5 separate regions of the Homo sapiens genome follow, and regions 2, 3, 4 and 5 are each linked to region 1. Evidence: promoter capture Hi-C in 16 types of primary human blood cells and fetal thymus (Javierre and others, 2016). All regions are on one chromosome and are shown on one strand. The core of a region is centred on a gene start or on the middle of the fragment in contact, and the rest is flanking DNA. Distances in the headings are between cores, read along the strand shown.

Evidence for each region. The method cuts DNA at HindIII sites, captures the fragments that hold promoters and counts their contacts. A CHiCAGO score of 5 or more calls a contact.
Region 2: a contact is called between a fragment that was not itself captured here and the fragment with the promoter of CDC37L1 in region 1, in 1 of 17 cell types (monocytes). The highest score is 5.0, in monocytes.
Region 3: a contact is called between a fragment that was not itself captured here and the fragment with the promoter of CDC37L1 in region 1, in 1 of 17 cell types (neutrophils). The highest score is 6.3, in neutrophils.
Region 4: a fragment that was not itself captured here is called in contact with the fragment with the promoter of CDC37L1 in region 1 in 1 of 17 cell types (neutrophils); the score reaches 6.1 in neutrophils.
Region 5: a contact is called between the fragment with the promoter of PLGRKT here and the fragment with the promoter of CDC37L1 in region 1, in 5 of 17 cell types (monocytes, erythroblasts, neutrophils and 2 more). The highest score is 9.4, in monocytes.

What each region holds. Positions count from the first base shown.
Region 1 is chr9:4,678,221-4,680,963 of GRCh38, reverse strand. CDC37L1 (cell division cycle 37 like 1, HSP90 cochaperone) reads right to left here and starts at 1,395. Exons shown (of 7, transcript NM_017913.4): 1 at 1,065-1,395. The coding sequence starts at 1,196. It overlaps CDC37L1-DT (CDC37L1 divergent transcript), which reads left to right and starts at 1,484. Exons shown (of 2, transcript NR_121598.1): 1 at 1,484-1,577. RefSeq lists an enhancer at 1,172-1,261. The HindIII fragment of the contact is 3,086 bases long and covers 1-2,739 here.
Region 2 is chr9:5,602,430-5,605,172 of GRCh38, reverse strand. All of the region lies in intron 1 of INCR1 (interferon stimulated noncoding RNA 1), which reads left to right. Among named protein-coding and RNA genes, the nearest start is that of RIC1, 25 kb to the left of the region's middle. The HindIII fragment of the contact is 1,254 bases long and covers 783-2,036 here.
Region 3 is chr9:5,583,824-5,586,566 of GRCh38, reverse strand. All of the region lies in intron 1 of INCR1 (interferon stimulated noncoding RNA 1), which reads left to right. Among named protein-coding and RNA genes, the nearest start is that of RIC1, 44 kb to the left of the region's middle. The HindIII fragment of the contact is 4,973 bases long and covers 1-2,743 here.
Region 4 is chr9:5,455,105-5,457,847 of GRCh38, reverse strand. It overlaps CD274 (CD274 molecule), which reads right to left. Exons shown (of 7, transcript NM_014143.4): 2 at 1,683-1,748; 3 at 428-769. The coding sequence starts at 1,734. It overlaps INCR1 (interferon stimulated noncoding RNA 1), which reads left to right. Exons shown (of 3, transcript XR_007061406.1): 3 at 1-417. Among named protein-coding and RNA genes, the nearest start is that of CD274, 5.9 kb to the right of the region's middle. The HindIII fragment of the contact is 5,729 bases long and covers 1-2,743 here.
Region 5 is chr9:5,436,585-5,439,327 of GRCh38, reverse strand. It overlaps PLGRKT (plasminogen receptor with a C-terminal lysine), which reads left to right and starts at 1,403. Exons shown (of 6, transcript NM_018465.4): 1 at 1,403-1,539; 2 at 2,634-2,743. RefSeq lists enhancers at 37-196, 1,757-1,846, 902-2,101. The HindIII fragment of the contact is 16,310 bases long and covers 1-2,743 here.

The DNA.
Region 1 (2,743 bases), core at 146-2,645:
GTGGTTATGAAACAGCATTTTTCTCTGTGTGAAGCCAACTAACCCTGTTAGCTGGACATAAGATTGATAATGTCACGCTTACTGGTAAGCAATTTAACTCATTCTCATTAACATCTAGCAAAATAAGTTGAGAGGAAAACTACTATTAAATCTGTTACACTCTTGGGAACCCCATTTTGCAAGAAGGCGGCAGACACTTATGATCCATTGAATATATTAGTGTTTAGTCTGTGATTCTGAAATATACTTCCAAAACACACACGGATTCGGAGAAAAAAACAGGACAAGGTGATGCGAGTATGTAAGTATCCCCTAAGATAGGTCCCTGAAAAATCCTTAATAGTATATCACATTTGGATACGTTTCAGTCGCAGGAAGGCAGGAATGCTGGATTGAAAACACAATACCAGGAACCTAAGAGAAGTCTGAAGGAAAACACAAGTATATGCGTATATATTTTCACTGGAGAATGACGTGAAGCAAAACTAAAAAACAAAACAGTAAGGCAAAGATGGTCACGCGAATGGGAGAGGTGTACGCCAGCGTCAAAAGCGAGATTTAAAGAATTTACTCAGTTGTCAACATCGGTGAAAATCGCATGTGAAATCTTTGTCAGGACTCAGTGTGATGCTGAACTACAATCATTCACTGTTCCTAGCAACTGTGCACAAGTATGCTAGAGCCTTTAACAGAATAAAGTGCTTGGGGAAAACCTCTCACAAGAGGACAAAGGGTCAATGTTACAGCATGAGCCGCCCCAAATCTGAGTGCTGTCAGGAAGGGGAGATGGAGGAAGGTATTCCAAGAGTGAACAGGAATCAGCCAAGGCGAAAGAAAACATGTGCGTGGAGGTGGAGGTTGGTAATATATGGCCACCCCGTCTGCCCTCCGAAGATGCCATAAAAGGGGTGGGATGGCATCAGGCGTCAGGTCCCAGGTCCCCGGCCCCTGGCAGTGAGGTGGGCGTAGAAAAAGGCGTAGAAGAGGGTCTGGGAGACGCGGCATTCCAGGGGTTTGGCGACAGCACCACTCCATCCCTCCGCAGAACGCAGGCCCCTTCTCACCTGGGCGCCGCCGCCTGGCAGCTGCGGGCAGCGGGGAGAACTGGGGAACACGTCGAAGTCACTCTCTTCCTCAGCCTCACCCTCGGCCCGAGGGAGGCTCCAGGGTCCCGGAGGCGGCCACGGTTGTTCCATGTCCGGCTGCTCCGGGTCCTACAACCGCCCTTGGCCCTACAACTGCCACTGCCAACAGACTTGGCGTGAATGGAACCTGCTGCGCCGAGCCAGAAGCCCAGCCGGGGGTCCGGGCCGTTACCCAGAATCCCTCTACTGGCCGCGACGCCGCTGCACACCCGGCGACAGCCTGGGCCTCGCCACCGGCGGACGGCGGAAGAAATAGTCGGCGCGGTGCGTCACTTCCGGTTGGGGCGGGGCTGTGGAGGCGCGTCCCGGGCCCTTTGCGTGTAGTGGGTGGATCTGCAATTGTATTCCTGTTTCAAGCCCCGTTTTCTTGCAGCTCTTCGGCACTGCAAACCTAACCGCTAATGGCGCTGTGGGTGGAGAAACGTTTGTTAGGTAGCGTTATATATTGTTATCTGGTGTTCCCTATACCGAAAACGGCGGGTCCTGGCCGCCGGGAGGTACTCAGACCAGGTGTGCACTTTACATGTTGCTTAAAAATTGCAACTCATTCCTTTACATTGACATTTAAACCAGTGATTCTAAGGCAGAGTTGGGGCGGAGGGAGGAGAATTTTGAACAAGCGGAGCCAATTTTCGTCTCATTTCTAATTACAGGCAACAACAGAATTCTGCGAAACTTGGTTGGTTGGAGGAGCACACCAAAAATAAAGTACCGGAGCCGGCACGGCTTCAAAAAAATTAGGATCAGTACCGCTAGTAGCGAACGCATAAGAAGGGCTTCCTGTATGCCTGCGTATCTTGTTTAAGCCTAAAGATATGTACTCTCTTTATCCTCTTTTTTTGAGACGAGGAAGTAGACCCAGCATGCCCGAGATCACACATTTTACAAGGAAGAAGTAGGATCCAGACCCAGGGAGTTTAACTTCAAAACTTGAACGTTTAACAATCAGGTCTTGCTGCCCTACTCATAAAGAGACCCAAATAAAAACAACATGACGCCATTTTTTTCCATGTGTTTAGACTGGCAAACTTGTGAAGTCGCTTAATACCAAATGTGTACCAAGATGTAAGGAAATGATGTGAGAATGTCATTAGTATAACCTTTTAGGAGGAGTAATTTGACAATATGAGAGGCTTGAGCGGATTGATTCAGCAATTTCACCACTAAGAAAGTATGCAACAATTATTTTTGCACCAATATCCAAAGATTTACTACAAAGATTTCTGGCAGCAATTTTTGTGTGTGTGTGGCAAGAAAAAAAAAAGCATTCTAATTGTCCATCGATAGAGGAACTTAAAGTATGGAATATTAATACAATGGCATATTACCCTTTTTAAAAAAAGTAAATTGTATCTGAATATGCTGATATATAAATACCTCCAAAAGGTATTGAGTTTTAAACAAAGCAACTTGCAGAATTAAACATATGCGTACGTATACAGAGAGAGAAGAGAGAGGGATGGTATTTGTTTGCGTCCGTGTGTGTGTGTGTGTGTGTGTGTGTGTGTGTGTGTGTTTGCGCAGAACATTCCTGGAGGATATGCAAGAAACTGTTAATGATTACCTCTGGTGGGTGAGCCTAGGAAGGAAAGCTTCTG
Region 2 (2,743 bases), core at 160-2,659, 920 kb before region 1:
TGTTTAACTGCGCTTGCATTTCTGGTTAAACTCAACTTGTTTATGATGTATTATCTATTTGAAATAAACTCCTAAGCTTGTTTCATTAGTATTTAATTTGAATTTGTAGCTATGTTTATGAGTGAGATTGGTTCAAAAGGTTTCTTTATTGTCCTGTCCTTCTTTGGTTTTGCTATCAAGGTTACGTTAATATCATTGAGTGAATTGTGTCATAGTCCCTCTTTTTCTGTTTTATAGGACATTTTTAAAGATTGGAATGATCTCGTTCTTGAAACCTAGGTGTAAGTAATTTGTAAACATATCTGAACTAAATATTTTCTTTGTGGGAAGATTTAAAAATATTGATTGCATTTCTTTGGTAGATACAAAACAATTCAGGTTCTCTGTTTTTGAGTAAGTTTTGGTAAATTATAGTTTTCTAGGAATTTGCCCATTTCACCTAAGTTTTTGAATATGTGGCCTAAATTGATTCAGAGTAGCTCATCTAAAAAAATCTTTGCCTTGTCTGTGATTAGGTCCCTTTTTATTCTAATATTGCTTATTTGTGCCTTCTTTTTTTTTCCTCGCTCAATCTCAGCAGAGATTGTTCTGTTTATAAAATAAAACTTTTAATTTTGTGGATTCTTTTTTTGTAGCTTTGTTTACTTTTTTCTGAACCTCTGTTTTTATCTCTGTTATCTATTTCCTCCTACTTTGATTGTTTTTCTATTTTTCCTCCTAATTTCTTGAGTTGAACACAAAGCTCATTAATTTTTAACCTTTCTTCTTGTCTGAAACAAGCTTTCAAATTAATAAATTGTCCTTAGAGAATGACTTTGACTGTTTTACAGAACATGGTAGGTGATATTTTCATTATCATTCGGCTTTTAGGATTTTTACATTTCTTCCATAATTTTTTCTTTGACACATGAATTACCTACAAGTGTGTTTCCACATTTTTCAATATATAAGAACTTTTATAGATTTATCTTTTGTTATTGCCTCTAACTTAATTACTTTGCGCACAGAGAATGAGGACTGTGTTATAATTTTGTGAGACTTGCCATATGGTCTAATAAATGGACAATTTTTGTAATTGCACTATGATATTTAAGAAAAATAAGTGCATTTGCCAACTGTTGGATGCAGAATTTTTATCTATTTGATTGTTATTAATTGTGTTGTTCAGATCTTCCATATTTTTAATATCTTTGCTTTGGGTGGTCTGTTGGTAATTGAGAGAGATATATTGAAAGCTCTCATTGGCAATTTCTCTTTGTAGTTCAGTAAATATTTGCTTTATATATTTGAAACAATTTTTCTAGGTGTAAAACTTTGAAGTTATTATATCACTGACAATTGGAACGTTTATAAAAATCAAGTAGTGGTCCCTCTCTAACTCTAACGATACCTATTTTCATCAGTCTATTTTGTGTGATTTTTAATATACACTTCTGTTTTTTTGGTTACTGTTTTCCTGCTACATCTTTCAACCATTTTGTGTCTTAAGTTTTAGGTTTTTCTTTTGAAAGAGCATGTAGTTAGAGGTTTTTTGTTTGTTTGTTCCCCAATCTGTCTTTTACTATAAAGTTTAGATTTATATTTATTATAATTATTAATATATCTAGACATTTTCTACCACCACACTTTTAATTTTTATTTGTCCAACTTTTATTTGGCTTTCCCCCTTTTCCTTTATTGCTCTCTACTCAGTTGATTGGGGTTGGGCTTTTGTTTGTAAGTTTGTTTTCTTTTTCCATTTTTCTCTCTTCTATTTTAGAAGTTATTGGACTTTTTGTTATCTGAAAATTGACTATAGTGACTTAGAAAAATTGCACCGAATATTCTGTATCTGAATAAAAAATCCACTGCAATGAATTCACATTCATCTGCTAGCAAAAGACATTGAAATTGCATGTAAGTCCAAATGAAAAGATGTAGAGTCCATTTCAGTCATAGCCGTTCTCTAGTAAGCTCACATATTGTGCTCCCATTACTTAAATAGGCATGGATTGTCACTATTACTGTATTTTCCACATTATTAAAGTGAAAAAGCTTATTAAAGGACAGAAAATGCCATAGAGAAAATAAGTGAATGTAAAATATTCACTGCATGGACACCAGACATTTACTGTTGTGCTCACTCCTTTACCAGCTCACTCTTGCCTAATATAATGCAATTATTTCTCATCAAATGAAAGCACACTGGCTTTCCCTGACCCAAAATAAGATCCAGAGTTCCTTTATCCATCTTTATGTGATCTACATTTCTCTTTTAGTTTAGTCACATTCACCCTTCAATAGATACCCTGTAACTGAAATAGTGGGATATAGAGTTAATTCTTTTAGCACGTAAACATGCAAAGAAATATTACACAGCAGTGAAAATGGAGTACTACATGTAACAATATTGATATATCTTACAAACATAATGTTAAGTAAAAAAGATAATTTGTAGGATAATATATACAGTAGAATTCCATTTACATAAGTCTGAAAGCACACCAGGGCAGAAGTGGGTCATGTAATTAATATAGCCTGTGTTCTGTTTGGCAAGCAAGGCACCTTGGTTTAGAGTTGTGTCCAACCCAAAGAAGAGGAGCTTTTTTTCTAATTTGCACAGAGGCTCTGGATGGGCTACCTATGACTCTGGGTATATGTAAAGGTATTGGTAATATTCTAATTCTTATATTTGGTGATGGGGTCATGGTTTTTATTCTGTAATGTTGTTACCTCAAACCTACTAGTTTGCTTCCCTAGAGTC
Region 3 (2,743 bases), core at 117-2,616, 910 kb before region 1:
GATACTTGCTATGTTTTACAAGTTTCTTGTCTGTGTCATCAGCCTTGTTCCATCCTTAGATACAAAGAGGGTTGAAAACAGGATGTTTGAAAACAGGATGTTTGGGTTAAAAAACAGGGTTGAAGAAAAAAAGAATAATATTCAGAAAAGAATGTGGCAAGTGGACATAGTTCTTAAGGAACCCTACAAATGAGATTTGAAAACCTGGCTCATTTCATGATTCATTGACTCAAAGATTTTAAGGACATATTTCAGCTGGTAGAAAAAAGTTCACTTGAGGATAACATCTTGAGAGTCAAGTTGAAGATAAAAGACTCCTGTTTCTGGTATCTCTGTGAAACATAAACGAGGGTACCCTTTAGGACCAAGTACTTCATAGAAAGTTAGAGCTGGAAGGGGATTTACAAGCCATTTCATTTTAGTCTTCTCAGGAAACTGAGGCTCATAGGAGTTAAGTGTCTAGTTTGAAGAATTATGGGATCTTAGAGTAAGAAGATTTGTAATTCATCACCTAAGGGAAGAATACTTTCCAGAGTATCCTGAAAAATGGTAGCTCCAGGCTATGTAGATATATCCAGGAACCAGGAGGTTAACCTTTGATGAACAGCTCTAGTTGTTAGTGAATTCTTTCCATTTCTGGGCCAAATTCTTCTTCAATGTAACTTGCACCCATTGATCTTGGCTCTCATGTCTTCCCTTGATAATTCTTCTCCAGGAGAAATGCGCCCAGCTTCTTCCAATATTCCTAGTCTAGGGGTGGCTTCAAGCCCGATTGCCATCTTGGGTGCTTCCCTCTAGATCTACTCTCATTTATTCATGTCCCAATTAACAAGTCGGGCCCAGAATAGAACAAAATATTCTAGAGGTAGGCTGGCCTAGACATAGTAGGTTCCATAGGACTATTTGTTCCCAGTTCTGAACAGTGTCCTGTCAACACTGCTGAAGTTCTCCTTAGTGTTTTTGTTTTGTTTTGAGACAGGGTCTCACTTTGTTGCCTAGGCTGGAGTGCAGTGGTGAGGTCATGGCCCATTGCAGCTTTGATCTCCTTGGGCTCAGGTGATCCTCCTACCTAAGCCTCCCTAGTATCGGGACTACAAGTGTGCGCCATCACGCCCAGCTAATTTTTGTATTTTTTATAGAGACGCAGTTTCGCCATGTTGCCCAGGCTGGTCTCAAACTCCTGGGCTCAAGTGATCCACCTGCCTTGGCCTCTTAATGGGCTGGGATTATAGGCATGAACCACCATGCCCAACCTCCTTAGTTTTTAAGCAATTGGATTTCAATTCAACCTGCATTTGTACTTAGGGCACATTTGTAGTTTATGAGTATGATACTGTTTAAATTCTTTTCTATTAAATCCCCAGAACTTTTTCATATTAACTGCTAATAAACTGCTCTTCCATCTTAGGTGTGTGGATCAAAAGCAGGACCTTTCATTCTACCTCTTTGGTTTTGACCTCGTGATTCAACCTGGGACTTAATTTTTTTATTTTTTATTTTTATTTTTTGAGGCAGGGCGTCATGCTGTTGTACAGGCTGGAGTGCAGTGGTACAATCTTGGCTCACTGCAGCCTCAACCTCCCGGGCTCAAGCGATCCTCCCACCTCAGCCTCCCAATTAGCAGGGATCACAGGCACACACTACCACACCTGGCTAATCTTTGTATTTTTTGTAGAGATGGAGTTTTGCTATGTTGCCCAGGCTGGTATTGAACTCCTGACCTCAAGTGATCTGCCCGCCTCGGCCTCCTAAAATGCTGAGATTACAGGTGTGAGCCACTGTGGCAACCTGGGATTTTGAAATAGAAACTCTTCTATCCAACTGACTCTCTCTCCCTACTTTATTAATCATCATATATTATAAGCTCATCTTCTATGTTTTCATCCAAGTTACCCATAAGACAGAGGGAAAAAGACAATTTTTTAGTAGTTGCTTTGTCAACCTAACCTCTTCTCTCAACCATATTCACTTACTCACAAGGATATAAATGTACATCTTGTTGTGTGCTGTGATTAAAAATCAATATATTCTATGTCTATGGCAACTCCATGAGCTACCAAACTTGTAACTCCCTAAGCTACCAAACTGGTAACTTTTTTTTTTTCTTTTTGAGACAGGGTCTCATTCTGTTTCCTAGGCTAGAGTGTGGTGGTGTATTCACAACTTACTGCAGCCTCAACCTCCTGGGCTCAGTCGATCCTCCCACCTCAGCCTCCCCAGTAGCTGGGACTGCAGGCGTGCACCATCACACCTGGGTAATTTTTGTATTTTTTGTAGAGATAGGGTTTTGCCATGTTGCCCAGGCTGGTCTTGAACTCCTGAGCTCAAGCCATCTGCCTGCCTCAGCCTCCCAAAGTGCTAGGATTACAAGTGTAAGCCACCATGCCCAGCCCAAACTGGTAACTTTACTGAAAAAGAAATGGGATAAATTAGGCAAGTTACTTAACTTCTATAAGCCCAAGTTTCCTCATCCATAAAATGTGAATATTTGTTCTACTCCCTTTACCAGGTGGTAGTGAGGCTCAACTAGTATAACAAGACATTTGAAAATGCTTTGTAAACTTAAAAAAATTTTTTTTTGAGATGGAGTCTTGCTCTGTCGCCCAGGCTGGAGTGCAGTGGCGTGATCTCAGCTCACTGGAAGTTCCTCCTCCCAGGCTCAAGCAATTCCCCTGCGTCAGCCTCCCAAGTAACTGGTGGGCACTCATCACCACGCCCGGCTAATTTTTGTATTTTTAGTAGA
Region 4 (2,743 bases), core at 87-2,586, 780 kb before region 1:
GAATAAAAAAATTTCTGGAGGGACACACAAATAATGGTTACTCTCTCTGCATGCCATGGGAGATAGTGGTGAAGGGAGGAGGGACACTTTTGCAATTCATTTGATCTCTTCCACAGTATCTGAATTATTTGCAAGTATACGTATTCCATTTGTAATAAAAAAGTAAAGACTAGAAATTCTTTTTGGAAAACTGTACATACTGTAGAACATGGCTCTGTGTTGTTTGTCTCTGGATTTCCAGTGACTATCAAATAGGTGCTCAAGAAATTGGATAATTATGTGAATGAATTCATGAATTGAATGAATGAATGAACAGACTATGCTGTTCTGTTTGAAAATAAGTATGGACTTACAAGAATGAAAAGTCTTCAACACTTGGAATATGTTTTCAATAAAGATCAGGCCTCTCATCTATAATAATTCTTACCATTGACTTTCACAGTAATTCGCTTGTAGTCGGCACCACCATAGCTGATCATGCAGCGGTACACCCCTGCATCCTGCAATTTCACATCTGTGATCTGAAGTGCAGCATTTCCCAGGGAGAGCTGGTCCTTCAACAGCCGGGCCCTCTGTCTGTAGCTACTATGCTGAACCTTCAGGTCTTCCTCTCCATGCACAAATTGAATAATGTTCTTATCCTCCATTTCCCAATAGACAATTAGTGCAGCCAGGTCTAATTGTTTTTCTACTGGGAATTTGCATTCAATTGTCATATTGCTACCATACTCTACCACATATAGGTCCTTGGGAACCGTGACAGTAAATGCTAAAAAGAAAGAAGGACAATCTTCAGAAAAGGGAAAATTCCTCGAAACATTTACAAAATTGGCACAGCGTTTATAAATCACTTTATCTGGTCGGTTATGTTATCATTATATTTAAGAACTTGCTAAACACATATTTTATCCAATGGGCTTGAAATATGTTTTGGGACACTATATCTCATGCTGAGACACAGTGTCCCAATAGCAGAATAATAAAATTAGCTAAACAAGTTGCCCCCACAATTTATAAACATATATTACTGTATAAATATTATATGGAGATGGAGTCCTTACAACCAGGGAGACTTGGTTTCATGTAGACATCCCCAGAATGTCCTTTGACAGGACACCTATTTGCTTCCTACATAGAGGGAATGGTAGATTCTAACAGTCATCTCTTTTTACTTCCCTAAACTTTTGATCAGTTTTCTGGCAAGAAGTACATTGGTATGGAGTTCAGGAAAGAGCACAGGGTGATGCCAGTACTGTGTTAGCCTGACATTTTCCATGTATCTTACAATTCTTCCTTAAAGTATCCTCATCAGGAAAGGCATGTCACAGAGCAACCAAGACTGAAAGATCAAAGGATCTTGGCCTTGTTGAAAGCAAACAAATAAATGTATACATACAGGCCATTTCCCCAGATATTTTCAGTAGTTAACCCTGGGAAATGGGTAATAGATTATTTTGTGTCTTTCAATTTGTCTATATTCTCTATATTTTTACAAAATGACACAGGTAACTTTATCATTGCGTAAAGTAGAAAGAAGACTTTGCCATTGTGTAAAGTAGAAGAAAGAATAGAATGTTCTCTCTATAAGAAAATTGCATGCATTTTAAATGATCATTTTAGTTTTAAACTCATGGTTAAAATATTTAAAATATAGAACCTAATGGAAGGATTTGGTGTCTTACCGTTCAGCAAATGCCAGTAGGTCATGAATATAAAGACAGCAAATATCCTCATCTTTCTGGAATGCCCTAATTATGGAAAACACGAAAAGAAGACTGCTTCACTTAATAATTAAACATACAATATGACAATATGGGACTTGGTGGTTCTAACTGAAATAGTCTTCTAATAACCAGTCATGATTGACTTGTAATTGTGGAAACCCAACAGGGAATTGGAAGTTCAATATCTTCATTCCATTGCCCACAGCCACATAAACTTAAGTGAAAAAAGTTACTAAAAGATGAGAAGTTTCAAATTTATTATAGTTACAGGCCGTGAAAAAAATCTGCCCACTCAAAAGAAGCCAAGAAGATAATATTGCACCAAATTCCTCTCAATTATTTCATGTTTTTTCTGCATTGTAACATACCTAGTAGAACCTGCCCTGTACAAAATTTCAGAGCAAGGAGAATCTGACTTTTACTTTTCCAACCTGTCAATGCTTTTTCCCCCTACAGCTAAATACTTTCATCTTACCCTTTAGCTATTCAAGGCTTCCACTTCACTGTCTCAGCCATGCTAGTCCTCCTTCAGGTGCCATCCTTCAAAATCTCCTCTTCTGCCCCTCTCACTTATTCTAAATTATAAATCTATTCTCTCAATAAACAGATTCTTCTACTAACAGTGGGGAGTGGGAAGGGGAGAGAGTTGGATTTGACTAATTCATACTAAGATATGAATGACTCACAGCCACTCTTCCAGAGTATCTGCCTAGATTCTATTCTTCATTTAGTCATCCTGCTTGAAATGTGACTAATTATTTCGTTTAGCAAACACTGATTGAGCACCTCTTCTGTGCTAGGCACTATTTTAAGCATGAGGAATACGGAAGTCAGAGTGAAAGAAAAGTCACTCTCCTTTTGCAGTTTATGTTGAAGTAGGGGAGTAAAAGATTTATACTCTATTTCAGCCAATCTGTGCATTTATTAATATTTTCTCCCTCTTCTGTTATACATATATTTACAAACTTTGATAAGAAAGAGGTAAGTTTTCCCTCTTAGTGCCTCTCCAATCTTTGTAT
Region 5 (2,743 bases), core at 154-2,653, 760 kb before region 1:
AGTGTAAAAACAAACAAAAAAAAGAAATGGTGTGCTGGATATTTTCTATTTCTCCCTCCAGGCATTGTGCCTAGTAGGCTGACCTCTACAGACTACACAGACCTAGCTCCACTGTCTTCTGGCTTCCTGGTGGATCCAGCCAGCGGAAGACCCCAGCTGGATATCAGAGCTGGGAGAACAGAGAGGTGGGTCTTCTCCACTCTGTCCCTGCTTTGGGCTGACGTCTCAGCACTGGCTACAACTATAGAATCTCACCTTACTTGGTGAAAAGTTGGCATTGCTTGCTTTCCTCTACTGAACGACACGGTTCCAGTTGGTTACTCTCTCGTACAGCCACAGCTACCGCTCTCGCTCTCGCCTGGTTTTAGTAACTGCTTCCTTCCCCCACCCCTCAGCCCTATAGTTACTAACAGCTCCCCGCTGTTACTGGTTACTACTGGTTACGGAAGGCGAACTATGTGCCCGACACTGTGCTAAATGCCCACATATATTATCTTTTAGTCCTCACAATCCAATAAATTAGATGGCTTTAGTCCTGTTGCAGAGGTGATAAATTCAGAGTGACAGTGACAGAGCTAGAAATTGAAGGTAGGTGTGTTTATGCTAGAGTCTGTGCACTCAAACACGATTCCTTACTTCTTGCATCAGTTGTTAACCTCCCTTCAAGAGTGTCAAACCTCCTGGTAACCCGCCCATTCCCTTAACTGGAAATGAGGGTGCTGTTGCAATTTTCTCATCCAGCCATTCCACAAATGGTATCTGGAATGTGGGACCCACAGTCCAGAATCCTGAGGGCTGCTGTTGAGAGCATCAAGACGCGCCCAGGAGGTCAGGGCGGTGTGCACTCACACGCTGAGCCTGGAGAAAGTTAGACGCCTTCTCCACCGCTGTGGTGGTTAGCAGGGACTTTCCTGAAGGCCAGAGACTGGTGACGTTCATGCTATTTTTCCAAGCCATTTGGTAGCAAAGAACAGAGTGCCAACAATTCAAGCATTCTCTCAGGCTGGGAGAGAGACGTGGCTTATTCAAGATAGAAATTGCTGGTGAGGTTGAGGCGAGACCGACATCTCTCTGAGCAGCAGGGGAGAAAGACGGCTCTGTTCAAAAAAGAATGGGTAATTTCAGTCAATTCTCTTCTTTCTCGTTTCTGTCTTATCTTTATGACTTTTTAATAGTGCCAATTTAACAGATGAGGGGACAGAGGCCTTTAATTGAGAATTCCACTCCGCTTCCTCTGCCTCATCTCAAAAATCTGGCAGCTGAGTCGCCGCGGCTTTGAATTTGCCTCTTTTGACCTTCCCCTCCCACCTCTGGTAACACTGAGCCTGGCCCGGAAGGACACACCCGGCTTCTGGCGGAAGTGCCGGCTCTTTAAAGAAGCTGAGGGCTGCGCGAATTGGCTGAGGTGCGTCATCTACTGTGTCTGGGCGCCAATCCCGACGCTGGGCGGAGCGAGGCCCGGTCCCTGCAGCGGGCGAAAGGAGCCCGGGCCTGGAGGTTTGCGTACCGGTCGCCTGGTCCCGGCACCAGCGCCGCCCAGTGAGTGAACACCGGCCGCAGGCGGGTGGGGAGAAGGGTCAGCCCGGCCATGTCAGTCAGCGCGATCTCCTGGGCTCCGGGCTTGCCAGGCAGCGCTGGGCGCCCGCTCCTCGTGAGCGCCGGCTCTTGGCTCTCGCACTGCCCCTGGTGCTGATAGGTATTGCCAACTTCGTTCCATTAGAGCGCGTTCTTGTCGCCTGGCGTGGACTCCGGATCTCTCCGTAGCTTTAAAATAGAGTTGAGAAAAACAGGCACAGTGCTCTCAACAGAAATCAGCACACTATTGCGGGGAATACCTAAATTACAGTAACTGGCCTCAGGGAGCAAGGGCGGTGTTAATTACAGAAAACCTCCGGAAGCTGTGGGCTCTGGGCTGGAATTTGCAAGGGGATGTGGCTTAATTTCAATGGGATGCAAATATTGAAAATGACTGTGGTGAGACGATCAGTCATACATTCAGGCAATGTGTCATCTGATCGGGAAATAAGTCAGCGTGGTAATCCCGATGACAGAATTCATGCAATTAATTTTTTATGTCCCCCCAAGTAAAATCAAATCTAGGTACTCACGGGTGACCGGAAGAAAGGTTGTCTGGAACTTGCAGGCACCACTTCTCCTCCCCAGAAATACACCTTCCCATAGTAATCTATAGCTCACCTGAGGCAGGGCTGAAGCATTAAAGACCCCTTCCAAGATCTCAGAAGGAATCAAAGGGAAAATGAAGACAGAGGGATTGAAATCAGCATTCTCTGCAAAACATCACTCTGAGACACAGTGATGTTTAAAATTGTATAAGTAGCAAGACATTTTTTTTTACCCCTGGTGAAAAGTGTTAGAATTTTTAAAAGACTTAACTTATACAAGTGAGTGAAATCAAAGTTATCCCTATTGCAAGGTCAATTTTGCTTATTTTCTGATACATATTTTGTGAGCAAGAGGAGATAGCTGAAAGTGTTCTGGACACCCTACGGAATATTCCCAGACTTTGGGAAATGACTTTGCCAGGAATGGGGAAGTTGGGAAAGGAAAGAATGTTGAAAATACTGAACTCCAGGGTGAAATTTACAAGGTGTGATGCATTTATTTATTCTCAGGTGTGGTTTCCCATAAGGAAGCTCTTCTTCCTGCTTGGCTTCCACCTTTAACCCTTCCACCTGGGAGCGTCCTCTAACACATTCAGACTACAAGTCCAGACCCAGGAGAG